2 separate regions of the Homo sapiens genome follow, and region 1 is linked to region 2. The links are contacts of gene promoters, found by promoter capture Hi-C in human tissues and cell types (Jung and others, 2019). All regions are on one chromosome and are shown on one strand. The core of a region is centred on a gene start or on the middle of the fragment in contact, and the rest is flanking DNA. Distances in the headings are between cores, read along the strand shown. Region 1 overlaps COPG2 (coat protein complex I subunit gamma 2). Region 2 holds the start of TSGA13 (testis specific 13).

Region 1 (6,055 bases), core at 383-2,882, 55 kb after region 2:
ATCAAAAAGTGGGTGAAGGATATGAACAGACACTTCTCAAAAGAAGAGATTATGAAATAAAGCTCATCATCACTGGTCATTAGAGAAATGCAAATCAAAACCACAATGAGATACCATCTCATGCCACTTAGAGTGGCGATCATTAAAAAGTCAGGAAACAACAGATGCTGGAGAGGATGTGGAGAAATAGGAATGCCTTTACACTGTTGGTGGGAGTGTAAATTAGTTCAACCATTGTGGAAGACAGTGTGGCGATTCCTCAAGGATCTAGAACCAGAAATACCTTTAGAGCCAGTAATCGCATTACTGGGTATATATCCAAAGGATTATAAATCATTCTGCTATAAAGACACATGCACATGTATGTTTATTGCAGCACTGTTCACAATAGCAAACACTTGGAACCAGCCCAAATGCCCGTCAATGATAGATTGGATAAAGAAAATGTGGCACATATACACCATGTAATACTATGCAGCCATAAAAAAGGATGAGTTCATGTCCTTTGCAGGGACATGGATAAAGCTGGAAACCATCATTCTCAGCAAACTAACACGGGAACAGAAAACCAAACACTGCATGTTCTCACTCATAGGTGGGAGTTGAACAGTGAGAACACATGGACACAGGGAGAGGAACATCACACACCGGGGCCTGTCTCGGGGTGGGGGGCTAGAGGAGGGATATCATTAGGAGAAGTACCTAATGTAGATGACAGGTTGATGGGTGCAGCAAACCACCGTGGCACATGTATACCTGTGTAACAAACCTGCATGTTCCGCACATGTATCCCAGAACTTAAAGTATAATAATAATAAAAAAAATCATTGGTTCATCTCAGTAGCAGAATGGAGATGTCAGAGGAACAGGTTAGTGAATTTAAAGATAAACCAGTAGAAATAAATCCCAACTGAAAAGAGAGAGAGAAAAAAGAAAACAAAAATAAACAGCCTCACTGGCCTGTGAGACTGTATCAAAGGGCCTAACATTTGTGACATTGAAGTCCCTGAAGAAGAGGAGAAAGGTATTGGTGCGAAAAAAAAATTTGAGAAAATAATGACTGAAAACTTACAAATTTGGAGAAAGATAAATTTACAGACTCAAGAAACTAAGTGAAACTTAGACAAGGTAAATTCAAAGGACTCTGCTCTCAGTCACTTAATGAAACTGCTGAACACCAAAGATGAGGAAAACTGTTGAAAGCACCAAGAGGAACATGATTCATTACATATACACATCACTGTGGGTTTCTCATCAGAAAATCTGGAAGTCTAAAAACAGTGGAACACCAACTTTAAAGTGCTGAAAGAAAGGAAGTGATGACTCAGAATACCATATCCACTGAAAATATCTTCCAGGAATGAAGGTGAAATAAAGACTTCCTCAGATGTAGGTAAACTAAAAGGTATTTGTCACCAGCAGACCTGCTCTACAGTAAATATTATAGTAAATGAAGTTTTTTCAGGCTGAAGGGAGATGACACTAGATTGATCCCACCAAAACAACATATGGATAGTACTTAAAGAAAACAACAACAGCTGAAAACAACTGTCAATCCAGAATTCGATTTCCAGTGAAAATAACTTTCAAAAGTGAAGGTGATAAAAAGGCAATTTCAGACTTAAAAACCGCTGAAAGAATTTATCTCTGACAGAGTCACATTAATTATAAAAGGGATTTTTTTCACCAGGATGAAAATGATAATGAAGATATGGATCTATGCAAAGAAATGAAGAATACTGGAAATGTTAAACTGAGTAGATAAACAAGAAATTTTCCTTGTTTACGTAATTTTAAAAGTTAATTGACTGCTTAAAGAAAAGAATTTAGTATGGAGTTTATAACATATGTAAAATAAAATCTGTGACAAAAATAGCATGAGGCAAAGAAGAGAAATGGTACTTTATTACTATAAAGTTTGTATCCTCTTTATGAAGTGTTTTAGCACTTGAAGAAAATCTAATAGGTTAAAGATTTACTGTATAAAGCCACCACTAAAATAACAATGCAGAATTATAGCTAATAAGCCAACAAAAGAGTTAAATAGAATCATAACATATATTCCACCCAAAAGAAGGTTGGGGAGGAAAAGAAAAGGGAACAAAATTCAGGCCAGGTGCAGTGGCTCACACCTGTAATCCCAGCACACTGGGAGACCGAGGCAGGTGGATCGCCTGAGGTCAGGAGTTGGAGACCAGCCTGGCCAACATGGCGAAACCCCATCTCTACTAAGAATACAAAAATTAGCCAGGTGTGATGGCACGTGCCTGTAATCCCAGTTACTCGGAGAATCATTTGAACCTGGGAGGCGGAGGTTGCAGTGAGCCCAGATGATGCCACTGCACTCCAGCCTGGGTGACAGAGCAAGTCTCCATCTCAAAAAAAAAAAAAAAAAGAAAAGAAAAAGAAAAGGGAACAAAAACCAGATGAGATGAATGGAAAAGAAATAGCAAGATGACAGACTCCAACCCAACCATATCAATAATTACATTAAAGGCACCTATTCTAAACACTTCAATTAAAAGGGAAAGATGGCTAGATTGGATTTTTTTTAAGAGATGGGGTCACTCAGTGCAGTGACATGATCATAGCTCACTGCATCTTTAAACCCCTGGGCTCAAGCGGTCCTCCCAAGTAGTTGGAACTACAGGCATTAGCCACTGTGCCCAGCTCAGATTGGATTTCTTAAAAAAGCCAAATCCAACTTTATGCTGCCTATAAAAACATACCTTAAATATAAAGAAACAAATAGATTAGAAGTAAAAAGATGAAGCAAGATATACCATGCTAACTGTAATCACAAGAAGCTGTATGTCTTCAGATAATGTAGACTCCAGAATAAATAATATTACTAGGGATAAAGGGGTCAGCTTACCAAGAGGACAAAGTAATATTGTTTATGGAGCTAATAACAGAGTTTCACAGTGCTTGAAACAAAAATTGGTAGAATTGAAAGGAGAAATCAACAGATCCACAATTAAAGCTGGAAATTTCAGTACTCATCTCTCAAAAACATAGAGCAAGTATACAGAAAAATTATTAAGGAAAAACAATTTGAACAAGAAAACTGAGACTCTTTGCTGATGACATTGTCTATGTAGAAAATTTGTGGAATCCAACAAAAGCTACAGGAAGTAATAAGTGAGCTTAGCAAATTTGCAGAATACAAGATCAATATGCAAAAATCAATTATGTTGTATATACTTGCCAAGAGCAGTTGTAAGTTGCAATTAATCCTGTTTACAGTAGCATCAAAATATGAAATACTTTGGGGTGAATCTGATGAAAGATGTATAAGATATATAGACTAAAAACTACAAAACATTGGTGATAGAAATTAAATAAGACCTAAATAGGGGCCGGGTGCGGTGGCTCAAACCTGTAATCCCAGCACTTTGGGAGGCCAAGGCAGGTGGATCATGAAGTCAAGAGATCGAGACCATCCTGGCCAACATGGTGAAACCCCATCTCTACTAAAAATACAAAAATTAGGTATGGTGGCGCGTGTCTGTAATCCCAGTACTTGGGAGGCTGAGGCGAGAGAATCACTTGAACCCGGGAGGCAGAGGTTGCAGTGAGCCGAGATTGCGCCATTGCACTACAGCCTGGGCGACAAGAGCGAAACTCTGTCTGAAAAAAAAAAAAGGAAAGGAAAGAAAGAAACAAAATGCTAGTAATTAAAAACAGTAGCAGAGATGAAGATTGCTTTCAGATTCATTCGTAGACTTAACACAGCCAAAGAAAGAATAAATGTACCTGAAGATAGGTCTATAAAAATGCCTAAACTGACACACAAGAAGACTTCCTAAAAAAGAATTTCAAGAGCTGAGAGAATATCAAACAGACTAGCATATGTAGAATTCCAGGAGAAGGGCTAGGCGTGGTGGCGCAAACTTGTAATCCCAGCACTTTGGGAGGCCGAGGTGGGTGGATCACCTGAGGTCAGGAGTTTGAGACCAGCCTGGCCAACTTGGCAAAACCCCCTCTCTATTAAAGATACAAAAAATTAGCCAGGCATGGTGGCATGTGCCTGTAGTCCCAGCTACTCGGGAGGCTGAGGCAGGAGAATTGCTTGAACCCGGGAGGCAGAGGTTGCAGTGAGCCGAGATCACACCACTGCATTCCAGCCTGTATGACAGAGTGAAACTCTGTCTCAAAAAAAAAAAAATGATAATAATAATAAAATTCCAGAAGGAGAAAGGAGAGAGAAAGCATTTGAGGTAATAATGGCCATTTTTTTCCCCAAAATTAATTACAGACAACAAAATGCATGTCCAGAAAGCTCAAAGAACACCACATGGGACACATACACATACCTCTAGGCATATCAGTGAAACTGCCAAAAAGAAAATTTAAATAGAAAATTTTAAAGGTACCCCCCCCAAAAAAGGACAAAACATTATACAAATAGAAACAGATTATAGTAGACTGTTTTTTTCAGAAAACATGCAAGCTAGAAGACAATGTTGTGTCAACTGATAATTTTATACCCAGTGAGACTATCTTTAAAAGGTGATAGAAAAGTAAAGACTTACTAATTTATGAGACAGCATCTTGCTCTGTTGTCCAGGTTGGAGTGCAGTGGCATGACTCCTGTGCTCAAGCAGTCTTCCTATCTCAGCCTCCTGAGTAGCTAGGACTACAGGCGAACACTACTATGCCTGACTAATTTTTTATTTTTGTTTTTGTAGAAAGAGGTCTCATTACGATGCTCAGACTGGTCTTGAACTTCTGGCATCAAGTGATCCTCCTGCCTCGGCCTCCCAAAGTGCTGGGATTACTGGGATGAGCCACTGTGCCCAGCCTAAAGACTTTCTTACACAACAAAAACTGATAATTTATTGGTAGCTGTCTTACTCTGCAAGAAATGTTAAAGGATATTCTTCAGATAGAAGGAATATGATACCAAGCAGAAACTTGGAGCTACACAAAAAGAACACTGGAAACAAGCCAGGGCAAAATCACATTCACTTTTTTCTTTTTGAAAAATTATTCTGGACAATAGCTGTATGTCTAAAACAAAAAATAGTAGTGTAATGTGTTTAAAGCATATATAAAAATATATTAGAACAATTGCACAAAGAATAGAAGGAAAGTATTGGGAATATACCCTTGAGAGGTTCTTATTCTAGCCATGAAGTGATACTCTTAGTTATTAAGTAAAGATATAAACCCTGGGGCAACAACTAAAAAAAATTTAAAGAAGTATAAACAATAAACTAGTAAAGGAAGTAAAATGGAATAATAAAAATAGTTGGTACCAAAGTTATTAAAGGAAAAAAGTGTTCAGTTAACCCAAACTCAGGCAGAAAGGGGGCGGGGGTAGAGGAGATGGGCAGAGAAACAAAGACCAGATGGAACAAATATAAAACTAGCCAGACCACAGACTGATTTGAGGAATAATAAAACTGTAGTCTCCTGCAAAACAACAACAAAAACAAAAACAGAAAACAAACTAACAAGACCACAGATTTCAATCCAGTCATAATCAGTAATTATATTAATAATGGATTGTCTAAACACACCAGTTGAATGACATGTATGGACTTCTCGTTAGTTGAAGACAATGAAGGCTGTATACTAATCAATGACTCAAAATCTCCCTAAATGATAAGAAACAATTTTACAACTACAGTTGTTCTTGGTAAAACTACATCCTCAGAGTTATTTCAGTTCAGAGAATACTGAAAAGTATGAAACCACTTTGAGTAAAAAGAAAAACTGCCAAATGCCAGTATGGTAATTCCTCATCCCTCCCCTGAACCGCACCCCGCCCCCCGAACCACACCCCCCACCCCCCGCATCCCCAAAGTCTTTGGGGCAAGCAGTGGCCAACCACTAAGGTTGTAGATAGATAGAAGAGGGAGGTTAGCAACCACCAGGCAGGAACAACAACTAGAAAGATTAAAGTTGTTGCTGTGGGTAGTGACTATCTGGGGCTGGTGTCATGAAGACGGTAAAAAGAATTGCCCAAGATGGGTGTAGGTAAAGAAAGACGGATTCTTTAAAAAAGTGGAAACATGTTGCTAGGGTGCAATGGCCCAGTCAGCAAGAG
Region 2 (5,215 bases), core at 1,750-4,249:
ACAAAATTCATTTATGATGCTCTTTTTTGGATGTTTACATAGTCTGGGGCATGGTTCTATGCTTTAGTCTCTTGTTAGTCCACCATTTTTCCTACTTGATCTTATCTAGTCCAATGGCTTCAATTAGCACATAATGCTTGAGGCTGACTTCCAAATGCATAATTCTACCCAAATGGCTTAGTCTGTTCAGGCTGCTATAACAAAATACCATAAACTGGGTGGATTATAAACAACAGGAATTTATTTCTCACAGTTCCAGAGGCCGGGAAGTCCAAAATCAAGGTGCTGGCACATTCAGTATCTGGTGAGGACCGGCTTTTTGTTGTGTCCTCACATGGCAGAAGGAGTAAAGATGTGCTTTTGAAGCCACTTCTATAAGTGCACTAATTGCCCCCACAAAGGCTCCACATCCTAATACCCTCATAATTAGGGACTCAGTATCAACATATGAATTTAGGGAGGCAGAGGACATAAACATTCAATCTATAGTACCAAACCTGTCTCTCCTGAGCTCCAGTCCCATATTTTAAACTACTTACTAGACAACATCCTCACCTCTGCCTCATACTCAACTGACCAGAAACAAAATTCATCATTTATCCCCCAAACTTGCTCCATTCCCTTTGTTCTCTAATTTGGTAACTTGCACCTCCATTAACTCAGGTAACAAAGCTAAAAATGTGATTATATTCCTTATCTCATGTATTCAACTAGTTACCAAGTTCTATTAATTCTACCCTCCTAACATCTTTCATATATCCTTTTTTAACCCTCTTCACTGCCACTACCTTGCTTTAGAGCAAGCTTGTCCAACCCATGGCCCATGGGCCACACGTGGCCCAGGATGGCTTTGAATGCAGCCCAACACAAATTCAAAAACTTTCTTAAAACATTATGAGTTTTTTTTGTGTGATTTGTTTTAGCTCATCAGCTATTGTTAGCGTTAGAGTATTTTATGTGTGGTCCAATACAATTCTTCCAACGTGGCCCAGGGAAGCCAAAAGATTGGACACCCTGCTTCAGAGCCCATATTAGGTTTTTTTTTTTTTTTTTTTGGTCATAAACTGCAGAAATGAACCCTAAGAAAATAAAGGATTTATTTGAAAGAATATTAGGAAAGCTCACAGAACTGAAGAGAAAATTGTGTAGTCTTGCTTTAGGAAGGACTAGATCTGGGGCAGCTCCGGGGACCTCAGCAGGTAGAGCTCAGAGCTCAGAGTCTTCCAGCCTGGGATACCACATGAGGTGGCTCAGGTGCAATCATCTTACAGCTCTGTGGGTCATTAGCAAACTTTCAAATTCTTAGTATAACCTGGTTGGCCACCTTTGAATCAATCATCCAGAGCTAGGATGCAGGAGTGAATGGCACTAATTGGTGATGGCTATAGACCCTTATAATTTCTCAACCCCTCCTCAGCACTGTCATAGACTTCTCAAGGACCTCTTTGCATCTTTCTAATCTATAGTTCTTCTGTCTTTCCAATCTATAGTTCACATGCCACTATTTTTGTATTTCTAAAATATATATTGTTCAATAAGGAGATTATACCTCATTTAAAATCTCTTGTTAGCGCTTCATTACTCAGAATAACCCACAAACTTCCTATCAAATAGTTCATTTTAGGATTTGGATCCTGTCTTCCTCTCTAGTCTCACCTCTCACTACCCTTCCCCTAAATCTTATGTTCCTGGCATATTGCAATTACAGTATTTTCAATTCCCCTAAATAAGCCAGGCTTTGTTGTATTCTCATGTTTTTGCCTCTGCTTCTCCCTCTTTCTCAAATGTCTGTCCTCTCATCACCTGGTTAATTCACACTCATCTTCCCCAGCTCAGTTTAGGCAGTAGTTCCAAATCTCTCTCAGTCTCTTCTCAGTATGGGTTAAGTCCCCTTCCTCATTGCTTCCATAGTACCCTAAATTTAGATCTAATTTGGCATTCTACTCTGTTGCAATCAACCGTTTCTTTGTCTCTCTTCCTGGCTAAACTGTGAGCTCCTAAAGGAGCTCAAGAATTACATCTGATTTATGCTTTGTTCTCATCACCTAGGAGAGTGTCTAATATGTCATAAATGTTCAGCAAATATATTGAAATAAGCAAACACTAGTTTTGAATGCATAAGATACAAAGCACTGGGAGGGGGGCACAAATATGTTTAAAATTTACATTTCCACTTTTAAGGGACTCACAGCTTAAGAGGCAGACAAGACCCGCACATAAGAAAAGTGAAAACAGAACTACAAGACACTATACAATGACATGCACAAAACCCAGTGACTATAGTCTAGAGTTTGGGATTGCATTAATCTAGAAAATCTTCTCTTTAAAGGAATGACCTGAGTAGTAACATAAAGAAAGAAGATTCAGGGCTGGGCATGGTGGCTCACGCCTGTAATCCCAGCACTTTGGGAGGCTGAGGTGGGTGGATCACAAGGTCAAGAGATCGAGACCATCCTGGCCAACATGGTGAAACCCCGTCTCTACTAAAAATACAAAAATTAGCTGGGCATGGTGGCAGGCGCCTGTAGTCCCAGCTACTCTGGAGGCTGAGGCAGGAAAATCACTTGAACCAGGGAGACAGAGGTTGCAGTGAACTGAGACTGTGCCACTGCACTCCAGCCTTGTGACAGTGTGAGGCTCCGTCAGAAGAAAGAGAAGGAGAAGGAGAAGGAGAAGATTCAAATGGCTGAAGAGATTGGGGACAGCATTTTAAGTATGGGGAATAAGAAAAAATGCTCACTGTATTTGAAGAATGCAGTGAAAACATTGGCTTAGGTAGAGGTAGATTAAGAGATGGTGAAGATGTGTGTGTGTGTGTGTGTGTGTGTGTGTGTGTGTGTGTGTGTGTGTAGAGAAGTCATAGGCTGGCAAAATAAGAGATTGGCAGATTTTGTTTAAATATGCCTTTAAGTTTTGGCCTTTTCATTCTCTGTCTCCAACACAGAACACCTCAGCATTCTAGATTGCCTATTCATCACAAATTCCCTCTGTCTCCTCCAGAATCCAGAAAAGAATAATTACGATATTTTCAAAATGGAAAGTTCCCATGCCAAAGACTTTGCCTTCTTCACCAAACTATGATTTCGTGATGTTCTTAAAGGTAGTGTACACCAGGTTTTTACATTCTTATTTTGAATGTAGTTTTAGTGTTTGTGTGATTTGTTTTTCAGCCTGGCCTGCAGACTAGCAACCCAAGACTTATACTGCCCAATTTGACAGCTCATTTTTATTTTAGTTTCACCATATACATGAATTGGACTTACAATTCCAGAAAAATTAAAGGTGAGAAAAGGGTGAAACGCTTATTACTCTATTTCCCTAGAAGGGAACTTTAAGGGTTTAGCTCAGTCTTGTCATAAACTCTAGAAATCATCTTTAGGGTTTGTCTAGACAATCAAGTTAGACATAAACCCTTGTCTATGGGCTTTCCACTAAACCTGTGGGCTTCATAGGAATTTGGGCTGATGTAGGTCTTTTCAAAGTTCTACTTAATTGTCAAGGCCCCTATAATGTGACTCCATTCGACCTACCTGCTTTTATTTCTTCCTACTTAACAACGACAAATAATCTTCCAATTAGACTACTTCATACACTATCCTGCGAGGTTCTGCTCAAGCTCCACAACCTTTAGGAAACATCCCAAGGCTCACTGACCTTTCTTTTCTCTAAATGGTTGGTTCTACCTTATCAGCTTGTATCTTCCATTTCTAATTGTCTATATCAAAAAGTATAGCAATCCTCCCATTCCCAATATATACACACACTTTTCCCAGCTTCTCAGGCCTAATCTATGAATGAGCATGGCTTTGTTGACAGGAGGAGAAAATTGGAAGATGGCTGCTTCTCCACCTTTAGCCTTCTACGGACATATGTGAATTAATTTTATTTCAGATCTTTTTATAGTTAAATCTCATCACTATCATGGAATTAGAATGTCACCTTTAAATCATTTAGTTAATACTTTCCATTTTGCAGATAAGGAAATTGAGACCCCAAGAGATAAAGTGACTTACCTAATATATTAGCATGTATTTGTCACTATTGTTTTACATTGGATAATCGCTTTCTCCCACCTCCCCCGTTTGTGAAATAAATTTAACTTCTAAGAGCAAGCATCATCATGTCTTGTGCATTTTCTACATCTACAATAGCACCTATCAGTCTTTTCTTGTTTCCCATACAGGCTCAAGAATGGGGCATGAGTACACACTGTGTGCTAAGGAAAGAATATTTGGATTGAATTGAACCCCTGCAGAACGTGGACTATTTAGAGACCTGAATTTGGCCTTGGGTGAATACCTGCCTTGGGTTGGCCAACTAGCAGTCAACAGCAATGAGCCAAAAGAGACAAACCAAGTATGTAGTCTTGTTTGCCCAACTAAGTTATAAACACCACTTTATATTAACTTATTGCATAGCCCACAGCACGTTGAATGGTGCTGGTCACAGAGTAGACTCTCATTAAACATATTTTAATTGACTGATTGTCCCTGGATCAAAAACCGGATCTTGGTCTGTATTTCATGGTTGCTTTTGTCAAAAAGAAAGCACCAGCTTGTTCCAGATGGACGCTGTTGGGCTAAAGAAGCGCTTTTCATATAGTTCTATGCCTTAAATTGGCCCTGAAGAAGAGTATCCGGGATTCTGTGCTTCCTTTTAGGTATCAAAGAATCATTTTGAAAAGTGCTACAATAAATATTATACTGTATTACTAATTATTAGATAACTTAATGAAAGGGCACAAACTTTAAGATGTTAAGTTGGGATGAATTTTGGTCTCTCCATCATGGGTCACCTACTCTGTTGGGACCGTTTTTAAGACCTCTGACCTGAGTTAATGGTGCAACTGGTGGCCAGCAACAGATGGAAGGTAGCTATGCTTGAATGGGATAGAATCATGGATTTGGGGATTATTTGTAGCACGCTATAGCCAGTTGACCTACAAACGACATAGCGTGGCTATTTCTACTTTTATTTTGGTCCTTATTCTGCTATCCTCATTTTTAAAGGAGAGAGGTCTAGTTGAGATAGTTGCATAATTCTTCTTACTTTGAGCTAATTTAACCACCCAATGGAACTATCTCCAAGGAAGAAGCAGGCCATTTATCTTAATCATTAACCAAATCTTACTGAGGAGCATTTTACATTATGTTCTGGCAGCAAATGGGTTTAAAAAGAATAGCAAAGAATAGAAGCTGCTTCACCCTATTTTCTG

What was found. The method cuts DNA at HindIII sites, captures the fragments that hold promoters and counts their contacts. A contact is called where the count stands out against the background at its distance.
Region 1: a fragment that was not itself captured here is called in contact with the fragment with the promoter of TSGA13 in region 2 in 1 of the 25 tissues and cell types used here (small bowel).

Annotation. Positions count from the first base shown.
Region 1 is chr7:130,627,513-130,633,567 of GRCh38, reverse strand. All of the region lies in intron 5 of COPG2 (coat protein complex I subunit gamma 2), which reads left to right. Among named protein-coding and RNA genes, the nearest start is that of COPG2, 38 kb to the left of the region's middle. The HindIII fragment of the contact is 9,308 bases long and covers 1-6,055 here.
Region 2 is chr7:130,684,329-130,689,543 of GRCh38, reverse strand. TSGA13 (testis specific 13) reads left to right here and starts at 2,999. Exons shown (of 8, transcript NM_052933.4): 1 at 2,999-3,282; 2 at 4,184-4,356. The coding sequence starts at 4,334. The HindIII fragment of the contact is 12,595 bases long and covers 315-5,215 here.